Linked DNA regions of Homo sapiens: all the other regions are linked to region 2. Evidence: promoter capture Hi-C in 16 types of primary human blood cells and fetal thymus (Javierre and others, 2016). All regions are on one chromosome and are shown on one strand. Each heading gives the region's core, a stretch centred on a gene start or on the middle of the fragment in contact. The rest is flanking DNA. Distances are from core to core; before and after follow the strand shown.

The links. Contacts are between HindIII fragments. The CHiCAGO score rates a contact against its expected background, and 5 or more counts as called.
Region 1: a fragment that was not itself captured here is called in contact with the fragment with the promoter of ZNF22 in region 2 in 3 of 17 cell types (erythroblasts, endothelial precursors and fetal thymus); the score reaches 7.0 in erythroblasts.
Region 3: a contact is called between a fragment that was not itself captured here and the fragment with the promoter of ZNF22 in region 2, in 1 of 17 cell types (erythroblasts). The highest score is 6.1, in erythroblasts.
Region 4: a fragment that was not itself captured here is called in contact with the fragment with the promoter of ZNF22 in region 2 in 1 of 17 cell types (fetal thymus); the score reaches 5.2 in fetal thymus.
Region 5: a fragment that was not itself captured here is called in contact with the fragment with the promoter of ZNF22 in region 2 in 1 of 17 cell types (M2 macrophages); the score reaches 5.1 in M2 macrophages.

The regions. Positions count from the first base shown.
Region 1 is chr10:45,423,753-45,426,452 of GRCh38, reverse strand. ALOX5 (arachidonate 5-lipoxygenase) reads right to left here. Exons shown (of 14, transcript NM_000698.5): 5 at 2,306-2,412; 6 at 1,321-1,493. Among named protein-coding and RNA genes, the nearest start is that of ALOX5, 51 kb to the right of the region's middle. RefSeq lists an enhancer at 86-586. The HindIII fragment of the contact is 2,778 bases long and covers 1-2,700 here.
Region 2 is chr10:44,999,477-45,002,176 of GRCh38, reverse strand. It overlaps ZNF22 (zinc finger protein 22), which reads right to left and starts at 1,254. Exons shown (of 2, transcript NM_006963.5): 1 at 1,199-1,254. It overlaps LOC124902530, which reads right to left. Exons shown (of 3, transcript XM_047426129.1): 3 at 1-1,397. The coding sequence ends at 768. It overlaps ZNF22-AS1 (ZNF22 antisense RNA 1), which reads left to right and starts at 1,374. Exons shown (of 4, transcript NR_126421.2): 1 at 1,374-1,647; 2 at 1,761-1,891. RefSeq lists an enhancer at 638-1,138 and a silencer at 865-1,214. The HindIII fragment of the contact is 6,687 bases long and covers 1-2,700 here.
Region 3 is chr10:45,403,712-45,406,411 of GRCh38, reverse strand. The region is part of intron 3 of ALOX5 (arachidonate 5-lipoxygenase); the gene reads right to left. Among named protein-coding and RNA genes, the nearest start is that of ALOX5, 31 kb to the right of the region's middle. The HindIII fragment of the contact is 611 bases long and covers 972-1,582 here.
Region 4 is chr10:45,442,027-45,444,726 of GRCh38, reverse strand. It overlaps ALOX5 (arachidonate 5-lipoxygenase), which reads right to left. Exons shown (of 14, transcript NM_000698.5): 10 at 1,511-1,689; 11 at 1,190-1,311; 12 at 899-999; 13 at 441-611. LOC102724323 (a long non-coding RNA gene) reads left to right here. Exons shown (of 3, transcript NR_120674.1): 3 at 1-159. Among named protein-coding and RNA genes, the nearest start is that of ALOX5, 69 kb to the right of the region's middle. RefSeq lists enhancers at 1,018-1,786, 1,787-2,557. The HindIII fragment of the contact is 3,018 bases long and covers 1-2,700 here.
Region 5 is chr10:45,377,022-45,379,721 of GRCh38, reverse strand. The region is part of intron 1 of ALOX5 (arachidonate 5-lipoxygenase); the gene reads right to left. Among named protein-coding and RNA genes, the nearest start is that of ALOX5, 4.2 kb to the right of the region's middle. The HindIII fragment of the contact is 543 bases long and covers 992-1,534 here.

The sequences.
Region 1 (2,700 bases), core at 99-2,598, 420 kb before region 2:
TGACTGTGGGGATTAAGAATCATGCTGGTGTGTATTAGACGGGGCAGTGTGTGTTTAAGAGTCTAGTCAGTGAGGGGTGGGTCAGCTCAAAGGAAAGGTGACTCATAACCCACGTGCCCTGGAGGTGGCCGGGACTCCCAGTGGGAGGCTGATGCCCTGCCAGGTGCTGAGGATGGCCACTCCTTGGCTGCTGGGTGCAGAGATGGCTGCTCAGAGTCTTCCAATTCTAGGATTCTATATGGCTTAAAGTTCTATGATCTCTGACTTGAAGTTTGAAACCTATAGCCACCAAATCAATGTTACTACATCTAGCAATTCAGTCCACTCAGGAACACAGATGCTCTCTCAGTGTGTGGGGGATTGTAACTGTCAGCTGTTCACATGACCAGGAAGTGTTCTGGGCCTGGTTGGGTGCAGGAGGAGGAGGAGGTTAGGAAACACTGCCTGCACTGGGGCAGGAGACTTGCCCAGGGACTTCAGCTGGGTGGGTGGCCCTCTAGATTCAGGTGGGCCAGGTACTGGGGCTGTAGGTTTATCTCTAAAGGGCACCAACCATCCCTCTCCAACTAGGGCCTCAGGGTAAGCTGAGCTCAAAAGACTGGAAGCAGCAGAGGCCACCTGGACACCTGGGGATAGGCAGCAGGGCCTGGGTGGCAGGAGGCCCCATCACGCTGGATCCATGGGGAAGAGGCAGGCTGATGGGCCAGCGCCTGTTGCTGAGCCCCACCAGATCCAGGTGGAGTTGGTTTGAACTTCTTCTGTCTCAAGACTAGGTCAGCCTTGCAGCCGGAGGCAGCTGAGTCTGCAGGTGAGGGTGGGGAGGAGGGTGCGACAGGAGCATGGGCAGCAGCATTTCTAACGAGAAAATCAACCATTCTGTTGGGTTTCTCCTCGTGCCCCTTTTTTATTCTCACACAAGGTCTGCTTCTTTCTCCAGTGTTCTCCCCTTTGCAAGGTGGGTGACAACTGATGACCTTGTGTGTAAAGCACCTGTCACAATGCCTGTCCCACCACAGGCCCCTAATCAAGGGTAGCTCCTGTAATTATTGATACTGATAGTGAAAATATTGACATTATGTTCCCAGACTCGAGCATCATGGAGAAACATTCCCCGCAATTCCTCCTCTGATGTTGCACAAGACAGTCTGCATAATGCCCAGGACCCTGGCTGACACTGCTGCCAGGAAAAGGAAGCGGCTGCTGTAGGCCAGATGGGCCTGCAGTTAGCGTCTTGGTGGCCTATGAGCACTGGCCAGGAGGAACTGGCTTCCACCTGACAGACTGTGACCTTGGCCACTTCCCCAGCCCATCAACCCCTACCTGGACCTCCTGCTCCAAGCTGAGCTGCCGCTCCAGGCTGCACTCTACCATCTCCGTGGTCACCGGGAGCTTCTCGGGCAGCTCTGTGCAGCGCCGGATCAACACAGGGTTGCAGCCATTCAGGAACTGGTAGCCAAACATCAGGTCTTCCTGCCAGTGATTCATGACCCGCTCTACCAGGAGAAAAGCGAGGCCCACCCTGAGCTCTGAGTAGAGGGCAGCCAGGGCCATGGCCCTCCTGACCTCACCTAAGAGCAGAGTCCCTGCTTGGTCTCCTCTCCCGAGTGCTCCCTGGATGGGCACAGCTCCAACTGCTGCCCCCTGCCCATCACTGGGTCAGGCTGTGGCACCAACTCATCATACCTGAGCTGGCCCTTCGTGGCTCAGAAGCCTCCTGGAGCACTCAGGTCCTTCAGCCCAGCATGGAGTGTCCAGGATGGAAGAAGGAGGGCGTGGAGGAGAGTCCCTGGGGGCAGTTTGCCAAGTTTGGTTCCCCATGTCCTGATTTCAGCACCTCTTCTTGTCCAGCCATTCCTGCCTTCCTAACGTCCTTCCCATGCCATGACTGGCCACTATGAAGCTAGTGCTCTCATCAAACACATCCTAGTCCAAAGGAACCCAAAGTTGCTTTTGTGTAAATACCTAAAACACAAGCCAAGTTCTGCCTTTGCTCTGTTCAGAAGCACAAATGATTGATTTGTGCCAAGAAAAAGTTCTGATACTTTTGAGACTTTTGATAGTGAAATGAGGTTGAGGGTGCTCGAGCTTGAATATCTGAGGAGGAGAAACCTCTGGGCACAAGGGTGACCACAGTGATGGTAAAAGGTGTGGAGTGTAGGGGGTGCTGTCCAGGGTGGCATGGTGGCAGCGAGGCCCCCATGCTGCAGCAGGCAGGAAGGCCCTTGTCAATTTCCCGGCAAGTATCAGACAGGAGAGCAGCATCCCCTGTCCCCAGCACCACTTGGGCCCCCAGAGGCACACTCACCAGAAATAGTGTTGCTGATCTTGACAAAGATTTTCTCAAAGTCGGCGAAGTCATTCCAAGAAGACTGGAACATGTGCATGAAGCGGTTGATGAACAGGTTCTCCATCCTGCAGACCAGGAGAGAGGTCACCTTGCGCACACTAGCCATGCCTCCCTCTGCAGAGCCCCTTCACACCAAGCTCTCAGGGGTCCTCACAACCCCCGCCCCCTCCAGGCAGCTCTGCAGAGGTAGGTGACTGGCTTTTCAGAACCAGGTCAGAAACTGGCATCTATACGGGATGCTGTTCTACTGCACCTCACCTGTCGAAGAGACAGGCCAGTACCCTCCAGAATAGCCTGCAGTGCCTTGAATTCCATTCACACATGTGTTCATTCATTCACTCATCGGGCACTTG
Region 2 (2,700 bases), core at 5-2,504:
TGGGTTTCTTTGCATACAAACATATAAAGCAAATAAATGAAAACAAAAACATAATTTTTCTTGCCTTCCTTTCATCTTATTGTATAATTGAGACTTTAGGTCCAGGACTTTATCTGGATATTTAATAATTACATCAGCTGTAATTATGGTCAGCGTAAGAGTAAGCCGCATATAACACAAGATTACAGTTAGGACTACCCACTCCTTAACTTAAGCAAATATTTACAGAACATCTACCACACAGGAGACATTGTGTTAGGTACATGGTGTTGGTGTTGCTTTTTTTTTTTTTTAATAACTATAATGGTCATTATACATAAAAGCACACGCATTTAATACAATGGAAGTCAGATCTAGTCAGAAACTCAGACTGTCAAATCCACCTACGGATGAGGCAATCATACTAGTATGTGCCAGACACTGTGTAACTTGATTCTGTGCTAGCTCTTTAATTCTCCTGGCACCTTTATGCAGTTATTTCCGTTTTAAGTTAAGGAAACGAGGGCACAATGCTAGAAGGCACTGGCCGGGTTCCCAGACCCTAGCAGTTTGACTCCAGAGCCTGTACTCTTAGTGGCAGCCACATCTTCCATTGCTCAGTCCAGCGCGGCGACCCGTGCTTTGCATAGCTCCCCAGCAGGGGCAAGCACGAAGTTAAACCTGAGTGACAGAAGCTGCTGTTCTTGCACACCCAGCTAACTGGAATGTGCCTCAGTTTCCTCGTAAAATGGGGAGGGTAATGATAAAGTGGCAACACCATCAAGATGTTAGAAGTTGCAATGAGTCTGAATCTGAAAACCGCTCAGAGCAGCCCTGTGCTGCCTAAGCATTTGTTCCACGTATCTAGTCCTCGAACGCTCCGAGCGACGGAAGGGGCCGGGGCTGCTGCTCACCCGCCCAGTTCCACCCGCCGCGGGCCGCGCCTCGCCCGGGCCCCCAGTCCAAGCCTCCCGTTCCCAGCACTCCGCCGGCCGCTCCTCATTGACCCGGCCCGCCCGCCGCGCAGGCCGCGGCCCCACCCTGGGCCCGCGTGGCCCTCCCGCCCCCGCCCGGCGGCCAGGCCCTGCCCGGAGGCGGGAGACGCAAGCCACGCCATCGCCCGGGCCCGCGCCGCCCTCGTTGCGGCCAGCGCGCTCCCGAGCGGACCCGAGTATCCGACGCAGGCCCCGAGCGCCCCAAGTGCCCCAATCCCACTCACCGCGCGGGACCAGCCACCACTCTGGCTCGCTGGGCGCCTCCCGCGCCGCCGGAAGTGAGGGCCTCGCCGCGCTCTGGCGCCGCCGCGGTCGCTCTAGGAAAGTGGCGGAGCGACCCTCTATGGTCCCGGGCCCACCCGAAAGCGTTGTTCGTTTCTTCCTGTGGTTTTGTTTTCTCCTCCCCCCAACTCGGAAGGCGTCCTGTGACCCCCGGGACCTCAAGAGCTGTAACCGCCCCTGTGTGTGGTCGAGGCTTTTGAAACCAAACTCTAGCCTCTCCAACCTAGAAACTGCATACTTTCCACAAATTTTGAGATTTTTGAGACCCTGGTACTTTTCACGAAGTCACCTTAATTATCACCAAAAAGCTCCTGCAAGATGGGAGTGGTTATACTCCATTTACAGGAAAGGAACCAAGGCTCAGAGAAGAAATGTGCTCCGTTCACCGTGTGTAAGCGGACGACCCAGAATTGGAATGGTTCTTTGTGGCTCCAAAGTCTGATTTCAACACACCCCTTTTGTTGCTCATTAGTAATGATCTCTCTTTGTTCTTATTCCTTCCAGGCTCCTCCTCAGCCATCCTGGCCGTGCTCAGTCATCTGACCAGCTGACCTCCGTGTTCCCCCACTCCCTGGGGAGCTCCTCCGCCTTTTGGCTTCCAATGCTATTGCTGCATGCTGAAGACTCCCGCATTGGTAACTCCAGTCTGACTGTGGGACATAAATGTTATTGAACTTTAGACTTGTATATCGAACTGATTACTCAAGAGCTGCATTTGCATGTGTAATGGACATCCCAAACCTAACATACCCCCCAAATGAATTCCTGATATCTACCTAACCTGTTCTTGCAACAGTCTTCTTCCCAGGGATGGGTGAAGATCCCATCATCTTTCCAGTTGCTCAAGCCAAAAACCTTGATGTCACTGTTGTCTCTTCTTTTTTTCATCCAAAATTCACCTGTGATTTATCCACAAATTCTGTCGGCTTCATCGTTAAAATATATTCATTATCAAGCCACTTTCAACACTTCCACTGCTATAACCACCAAGCCACCTTCATCCACCTTCTGGATTATTATATTGGCTTCCAGACGGGTTGCCCTACAGTCTATTCACGGCCCCAGAGTAATCCTCTTAAACCTAAGTTAGATCATGTCATTCATTTGTTCAAAACCTTCAAAGGCTTCCCAACTTATTAGAGCAAAGCCAAGGACCTCGCAGTGGCACCCGATGCCTCTCATGATCTGTCTCTTTAGTTCTTTATTGTGTCTGCAGTGCTGAAAACAGTGCTCAGCAGGGAACAGACACTCAGTAAATAGCTGTTGAATGAATGAATTTATAAGATGCCTTATTGTTTACAAAGTACTTTTACATCTTATCTTCTGGTTATTCATCTTCACCATAGTCTCATGAAGCACAGATTATCATATCTGTCTTGCAAATCAGTAAACTGAAGCAAGAGAGGCTGACCTGCCTGAAGTAATACAGTGGTTTGTTGGTGGA
Region 3 (2,700 bases), core at 28-2,527, 400 kb before region 2:
ACAGTGAGATATGTAACAGACATTAACATTTATTAGAAAGTTATGATAACCAAAAGCTGGTGCTGGGGTCTCGAGTAGAAAAATAGGCTAACACATAAAGTGCGGAAACAGACCCAGAGACTATGTATACATAATACAAAACTCGCCAACACTTATCCAGTGCTTTCTATGTGCCTACTACTATTCTCTGTGTTTTCATGGTTTAACCTATTATCTCAAACCCCTAAAAGGAAGGCACTGTTATTTCCCTCATTTTACAGATGAGGGAAGTGAGGCACAGACAGATTAAACAACTTTCACAGGACTGGAGAAAGTGCCAGTAAGTGTGAGTTGAGCCCAGACACTCGAATCCAGAGCTCATGACTGCCATCCTATGCCAGCTTGTACCGTGGGTATCATCATCCCTGTCATCCAAGTCAGGAGGAAAGACATCATCCCTGTCATCCAAGTCAGGAACGAATGCTACCGGGAGAGTTCCACCCAGGTATGTATGAAAACACGTGGCAGGAGTGGGGCATGGTGGCGCACGCCTGTAGCCCCAGCTACTTGGGAGGCTGACGTGGGAAGATGGATTGAGCCTGGGTTAGTTTGAGGCAGCAGTGAACCATGATCATGCCACTGCACTCCAGCCTAGGAAACAGAGCAAGACTCTGTCTCAAAAAAAAAAAAAAAGGTAGATGAATGAAAGCTCTAAACTCAAAGGGGAAATTATAAAAGTATTAGACAAAATTACGGGGGAAGTATTTGTGTAACACTGGGATGGAAAGGGTTTTCTTAAGCAAAGGAGGAAACCCAAAAGTTATAGATGTAAACAATACATAGTTAATAAAATAAAGAACTAAAATCTCCTGTGGCAAAAGCAACAGAAGACAAATAATAAATGCTATACATATGTAACAAACGGATACTATCCTGATATAGAAAGAGCTCCTTTAGATTAATAATTGAAAGAACAATAGGGAAAAAAAGCTTATAAATAGGCAATGCAGTGATGCTTATTAGTGGTCAGGGGAGTGCAGACTAAAACAACCACAAGGTCTTAGGGATTTTTAGACTGTCAAACAAGGTCATCGGGTACTGACAAATGTATGGATGGGCAAAAGTATCTTTTCATACACAGCTGGTAGGACCGCAAATTACGATACAATTTTGTGAAAGGATTTTTGTCGGTATTTCTTAAGATGAAAAAATGCTGATTTGTTCCAGCAATCTGAGTTCTGGAAATGGATCTGCCATTAATTAAAGCACCAGTACATCAAGATGTTTGTACAAGGTTGGTTCTGGCAGCATTGTTTGTACTGCAATACCCAAAACAAACAAACACATCTACAAATGGGAAATGAACTGAACGTCAGTGAATAGGGGAATGGCTAAGTAAATTATGGTGCATTCCCAGAAGGCAAGAAATAGTAGCAGTTTAAGAAGGGGAAAATATATGAGATACTATTTCACACGCAAGAATGAAAACATCTGAAGATGCGAAGTGTTGATGATGCAGGGAAACAGTGAATCTCAGAAACAGTTACTGGGGTGTCTACTGGCAGAATGCCTTTGGAAAACAATCAGCAATATCTAGAAAGCTTAAAAACACGTGGTCTGCAACCCTGCAACTCTACTTCTTGGAATATTCCCTACAGTAACTCTTCCATGAGAGCACAGAGAGATGTGTGAGAAAGCTCACTGTCGCTTGGTTTGCAACAGCTAGAAATTAAAGACAGCCCGCCTGCCCATCAGCAGGAGAGCGGACGAGCGCATGGGTTATTCAGATACTGATATGCCATGAAGAAGTTAACTGCATGAACCACATCTATCTGTGTCAACCAGATCCTCTTCAATACTTAGTGATGAGTGAAAAGTGCAGGTCACATAATGATTAGATTAAATTATATCGATTAACAAACACCTACACTTTGCCATTTACTGCTGTGTGTGAGTGTGCATGTAACACAGACAGATGTGGTCACAGTGGGAGAGCACAAGCTGTGGGCTATGACCTGGGTCTGCTTCTCCTTCTCCCTGCGTGGCTGAGTGAGTAAGGAGGGCCTGCAAGAAGCGCCAGCTTTCTGACATAGTGTGGACTATTCTTAGTCATTGCTTTACTTCCAAACTCTGATCTGGAAGCCTGAGAAATCTTCTGAGAAAGAGGAACTCCAAGATTGTGCAGACAGTGCAAAGTTCAGTGTTTCCTGAACGGAAGCAAAGGAGGGTTTCTGAAAAGGACAGATGAGTGGAAGGAGGAAGAAAAAAATGATTAAATCTAAGAAAGGGGGAAACGATCTCACCAGAAGCCCCCTGCTGCAAGATTATGATAATGTTAAGTAGCTCCCAGATAATTGGGCTAGTTTGTGTTATCTTAGATGAGTAGATAGCAAAGTCTAATTAGAGCCCCACTAATTCATACTAAAGTGTTAGTGGCTTATAACAAATTAAATGAATTTTATGGGCATTTTATCTTAACCCAGATTCACAGGCCAGAAGTGCTCTGAGAACTGGCTGCAGGGGCTTTGCCATAGGTGTCTGAAACAGGGAGGGAAGCCAAGGAAGAAGCATAGAAACAACAGCCCTTTGGGATGGGAGGCAGAGCTCAAGCACAACGTGTGCACTGCACCAGGTATGGAAGTCTGGAAACACATCATATGGTGCCTGAGCTGAGAGGCTTGTGCACAAATACTCTAAAACAAATCACACATTTATAAACCC
Region 4 (2,700 bases), core at 22-2,521, 440 kb before region 2:
GCCATTCTATGCAGTACTGAGCTACCCCAAAGCGGGTGCATCCACGAAGACACACCGGATTCAGTTGTTAGGTTAAATGAGATGCACGTGTCCGGAAGGAACCCAGGAAACTCTTGGTCATTCCCTCTGGAGTACCAGGGTAAAACACATGTGCAAGAACTTTGTCAATAGCTGGGGGGAGGGGGCGTCACACACGACCCTCTGGTGACAGTGAGCAAAGCCTGGGCTGTGTGCTCTCCTGCCCTGCACACCCTGAGCTCTGTCCAGGCTGAGGCCGGGGGACCTGGTGGCGGCTGCAGCCTTCTGGGCCCTTCCAGCCTTGGAAGTCAGGATTCCTTTGCTCCAAGTGAGCCTTGGGGCCCGAGTCACAAAGCCCTGAGGCTGAGGAACCGCTTAACCTGGGGTGACCTGGGGCTGTGCCCCGCCCTGCCCAGCTTCACCTCGTTTTCCTGGAACTGGCTCAGCGCCCACACTGCACCCAGATGCCAGCAGGAGCGGCCGCGGTCGGGCAGCGTGTCCACGATCTGCTCAATGGTCACCACGCCCTTGGCAGTCGGTGGCGGGGCTCGCATGGTTGGGGGCGCATTGGGGATCCAGGAGCACCAGTCGTACTGCGGAGACGACCGCCAGCAAGCGTGGGCACCCCCGAAGCCCTGCTGCCCAGCTGCCCCCTGGGCCCCGTCCTCCCCGTGCCCCCCAACTCCAGCGGGCCCTGCAGTCCGTCCATCCTCTTTCCCCGCGGCCAGCGCCCTTGGCTGAGCGGGCAGAATCCATCCTGCAAGTCCCGTGCCAGGCCCCGAGGCTGTCCGAGGGTGCAGTACGCGTGCAGAACCGGGGCGGGGGAGGAGGCAGCGGCCTTGAGAAGGGAGCCCTGCCCAGCGGGCCCGGCCCTGCCTACCTGGCCGAAGTTGACCGCGGCGTGCTGGGCGGAGGCGGTGAAGATCACCACGGTCAGGTACTCCGACAGCTGCTCCCGGCTCTTGACCGACTTGGGGAAGCCTAGGGTGGAACCACCGGCGGGCTGAGGCCCAGTCCCTGAGGACCCCAGGGCCCGGCGCCCACCCCGTGCCCGGATTCCCTGCCCCAAGGCCGGAGGGCACCCTGGGCAGGACACCCCGGAGGGGTGGCGGAGGGGCCAGCGCTGCCGACTGCGGGGGAGCCGGGTCCGGAGACGTCCCGGAGGCCCTACCTGAGGACTTGCGGCCCCGCATGCCGTACACGTAGACATCGTTCACGAAGTCCTGCAGCTCCGGGTCCTCCTCCACCACCTGGTCGCCCTCGTAGTAGATGTCTACCACCTCGGCCGTGAACCTGGCTCAGGGGGCGCAGCCGGGGTGGGCGACCCAGCCAGGTCTGCGGAGCGGTGCCCGGCGGCAACCCCCTCACGGACGCTGGGACTCCCCCACCCCGTCCCCATTCAGCGCTAGCGGTGGAGGGGCCAGGCCCGCCCCAGGTAGTCAGGCAGGGGTCCCGGCTCCTCCCCCAGGACCACCGCCCCGCGGGCGCTCACGTCCTGATGGCTTCCCACACCAGGAGCCCGTCGTCCCGGTAGAAGTAGTAGGGGATGTCTTCTTTGCTCTCCATGCCCCGGGCCTTGATGGCCTCGGGAAAGCACAGGGAGGCATAGGTCAGGTCCTTCATGGCCCTCTGCACCATCTGCACGTGCCCACCGCCCCCTGTGGCGTTGGCCTGGAGTGGGAGGTAGAGTGCCCTGAGCGGGTGGCTCCTCCCACAGCTGTCCAGACCCATCCCTGAGGAAATGTGCCAGGGGAGGCGAGGAGGCCAGGCAGGCAGAGGTGCAAGCCCTTGTCCTGTGAGATGGGGGAGGGATGTTTAACGCAGAGAATGACAAGGGCAGCCGGGTGGAGAGGTGCTAGGGAGGAGCCTCCCGCCCAATCCAATGCAAGGGACTGAACCGTGGGGCTGCAGAGTACAAGAGGGAAGGGTGCGCTCCCAGCCACAGGAGGGCAGCAGGCGTGGGCAGGTGTGTGGGGGACCCCAGCACCAGCGGGCCTGGGCTGTGAAGTCTGCTCTAGTGCTGAGCACACGACCCTCAGTCATTGCTCTCAGTGACCCTCAGTTTCCAGGACCCATGCAACTCTGTTGAGGGCCTGTTGTGTGCTCAGGTGAGGGCTGGAGAGACCCACAAGGAGGGATCCTGGTCCTGATCCCGATCCCGGCTTCTGAGTGATGCAGACACACTCACAAGCTCACTGGCACATATGTGTGTCCACGTGCACACACACACATGCAAATACACCCAGGGGGCTGGGCTGTCGGTGCCACAGAGGTTTTGAAGAAGGACTTGGGTGCTGGGGTGCCAGAGATTGGTCCACGGTGGGCATTCAGCCCAAGCAGGACCAACCAGAGCTGCCCCCCAGCACTTTCTGTTTAGATGCGGCTGGGAGATAATGGCCACATGAGAACCTGAGGTGGAGCTACTATGATGAGCTCCTGTGCCCTCTCCCATGGGGGCCTGTCTGCAGCAGGAGAGTGTGATGCCAACACAGGTGAAAGAGACAGAAAGAGGGAGCCAGTGTGCATGCACCCTGGGGCATTGCTTGAGTCCCTGGATCCATTTCTGGCTGAGGCCCCCGACCCTCTATTGTGTCCAGGTATTTGAGATAAGGCATGTCTTGTCCAGCTGCAGCTGGTTTGAGTTGGGTTTTGTCATTTGCAGCCCAAACAGTGTCTCAACTT
Region 5 (2,700 bases), core at 14-2,513, 380 kb before region 2:
CCTGGGTGGCCTCCTTTCTCCAGAGGCACAGGCCACCGGTTGTGTGCATCAGAACCACCAGTGCCCCTTCCTGAATCCAGGGGGTTGCAGGGCACCAGGCCCCACACCGCCTGTGAGCTAGCATGGGCCCCTGCGTCACGGCCACTTCGTGACTACATGTGCCAATCCGAGTAACTGGAGCACACATGGGAGGAGGAAACTGAACCTGTGACCTCAAACTCCTTCACTCAAAGCCCAGAAGGAACTCCTGAAAGGCTGGAGACAGGGCTGTGAGGACAGAGGGAGAGTGGGAGGCATTCTGAATGCTGGTGGGGCAGGCAGAGCAAGTCTGTGTGCGGTGAGGACTGAGGGGCGGCCACCAGAGGCCCGGGCCTGGTCTGAGTGTGGCTGCTGCAGGGGAAGTAGCTTTCCTATGGCTCTGAGGGGCTGGAGAGGGAGGAAGGTGTCCCCAGGGGATAGATGACAGGAAAGCTGGGGTGGGGTGGGAGGAGCTAACAGGGACACTCTCATGGGAGGGAGGCTCCCAGTACCTTGGACTAAGAGGGGAGGGAGATGGGCTGAGGAGGCATTCCAGGACTGGGCAGGTCCCACAGGGAGGGCCCGATGTCTACCTGGGGGTGACGACCCACACGAAGAGACTGAGCAGCTTCTCTGAGGGAGTGGACAGTGGGGTGACCCTCCAGCACACCTGTGGTGCAGTCACAGGGGACTGGGACACTCCTGGCCCCCTGCCCTACCTACACCTGCAGGCACCTGGTGGAGAGCCCCTGAGTTTCACTTGGGGTGAAATCACTAGGCAGATTTACAAGGACTCCATCTGCCATCTGACAGGGACTTCCACAGCAGGAGGGGGCCAGGCCTGCAGTCTGGCTGGTCTATGGCCAGCCCAGCCACTTTCCTGGTGCTGGCTTCAAGCCTGAATATGATAAGAGGTGAACAAGGGGCAGAGGGCTCCAGCCTTGACCCAACTCAGGGAGTAAAAGACAAAGCTTGATGGCTGTGGTTCTAACATCCCAGGGGCCACTAATGGAAGAATGACAGATAAAGGCCTCCTTCCAGGAAAATACCAGGGTCACATGTGTCAAACTGCAAAATATCTTCGGAAGGTTTGTGGAACTACAATGGCCACCTTCCTCCCTCCTCTCTGGGCCAAGTACACTGGGCTGATGCTATATTTGTCTATTTGCTGTGACACATTAAATTCTCAGGTGACACACTGAATTATGGTGGGCACTATCAACAGTGGACACCCCCCAACAGGCCCTCAGGAAGCACTGGGCCTGGGAATGGCCGAGCGAGTGATTATCCTGCTTTACAGATAGAAACTGAGGCTCAGAGAGCAATGGTGGCCTCAAGATCAGAACCTACACCTGTGTGATGGCCAAGCCCAGGTTCCTCCCACAGTTCCCCAAGGCCACATCTTGAGAAAAGCCCTGAACCGGAAGCTAGAAGGCCCAGCTTTGAGCCCTGGTTTGTACCCTGGATGGAGTGTAAAGGGGCAATGTGGAGTGGCATGGAAGGACAGGGAAAAGCTTCATAAGAGGGTATTTCAGGCAGCTTTTAGGGGCTGATCAGATTTCAGAGGGCAGATGAGTAGGAGGATGGGCATGGGTAGCACATTTCAGATGTGGGGAACTGGGAGGGCAGGGTCCCCGGGGGATTCACACGTGGGAGGAGGAAGGCTGGACACAGTTTCTGGGGACAGAAGTGGGTGGCGTGGTGGTGCAGATGCTGGAGAGAAACAAGGGAAACCTGCAACTCACCGGCCTCATTTCACAAGGGGCCACTTTGCTGATTTTGCTTGTTGCTTTTAACTTTTTATTGGATATGTAGTTTTAAAGCTTTTGAATATTTCGGCAAAGAGTCAGTTGGTCAGTTTTCATGTGAGCTTTCTATCAGCATTTTAGGAAAGTTTTCATCTGTCTTTCATCAGATCTCTGCTGTTGCTGGGACAGGGAGACGGATCTCTCTGCGGAAGCAAGGATGTGTGCCCCACCCCCAGACTACCCATCTTGGAGGGGGACTAATGAGGGGCTGTGGGAGGAGGAAGCTGTAGAGCAGAGAGGAAGATTGGGGGCCAGACAAAACAGAGACTCGGGATGAGAGAGGGGGAGGCTATGGGGAAGAGCTGAGGAAAACAAGGGACGGAGAGAGGGATTGGGGTAGTGGATAGGGAGACCAAGGGGCAGAGAAGGGGGAAAATGTGGGACAGAGAGCCGGAGATTGAGGGAGCAGAGAAGGGGCCTCTGAGAGGTGGCTGGAAGACAGAGTGTAGAGGAAAATTCAGAGCAAAAAAGAAGGGAGAGTTGTAGGGTAGAGAGCAGAAACGGGGGGCATTTAGGGAACTGGGAGCAGGGGAAGGAAGAGGAGGCAGAAGAGGGGGCAGAATGTAGGGAAAAGATGGCTCAGAGGGGGAGACTGGGAGATGAGAGACGGATTGAGGGTCATACCAAAGAAATATTTATGCTCCACTAATATATTCCCATTCACAAGAAGGAGGTATTCTAGAATTAATTTTTCATGAATGTAAGAATACTCACTGACTTAAGAAGCATGAATCATTATAACACTTTTCTACACTTGTTGAACATATTCAAGTATCATATATTAAACACCACGCTATTGCCCTTAGCTTTCTTAAAAGTACCAGCACAGAATGAAATGGGCCAACTAAGATTTCTCAGAAATCTTCAGATCTGT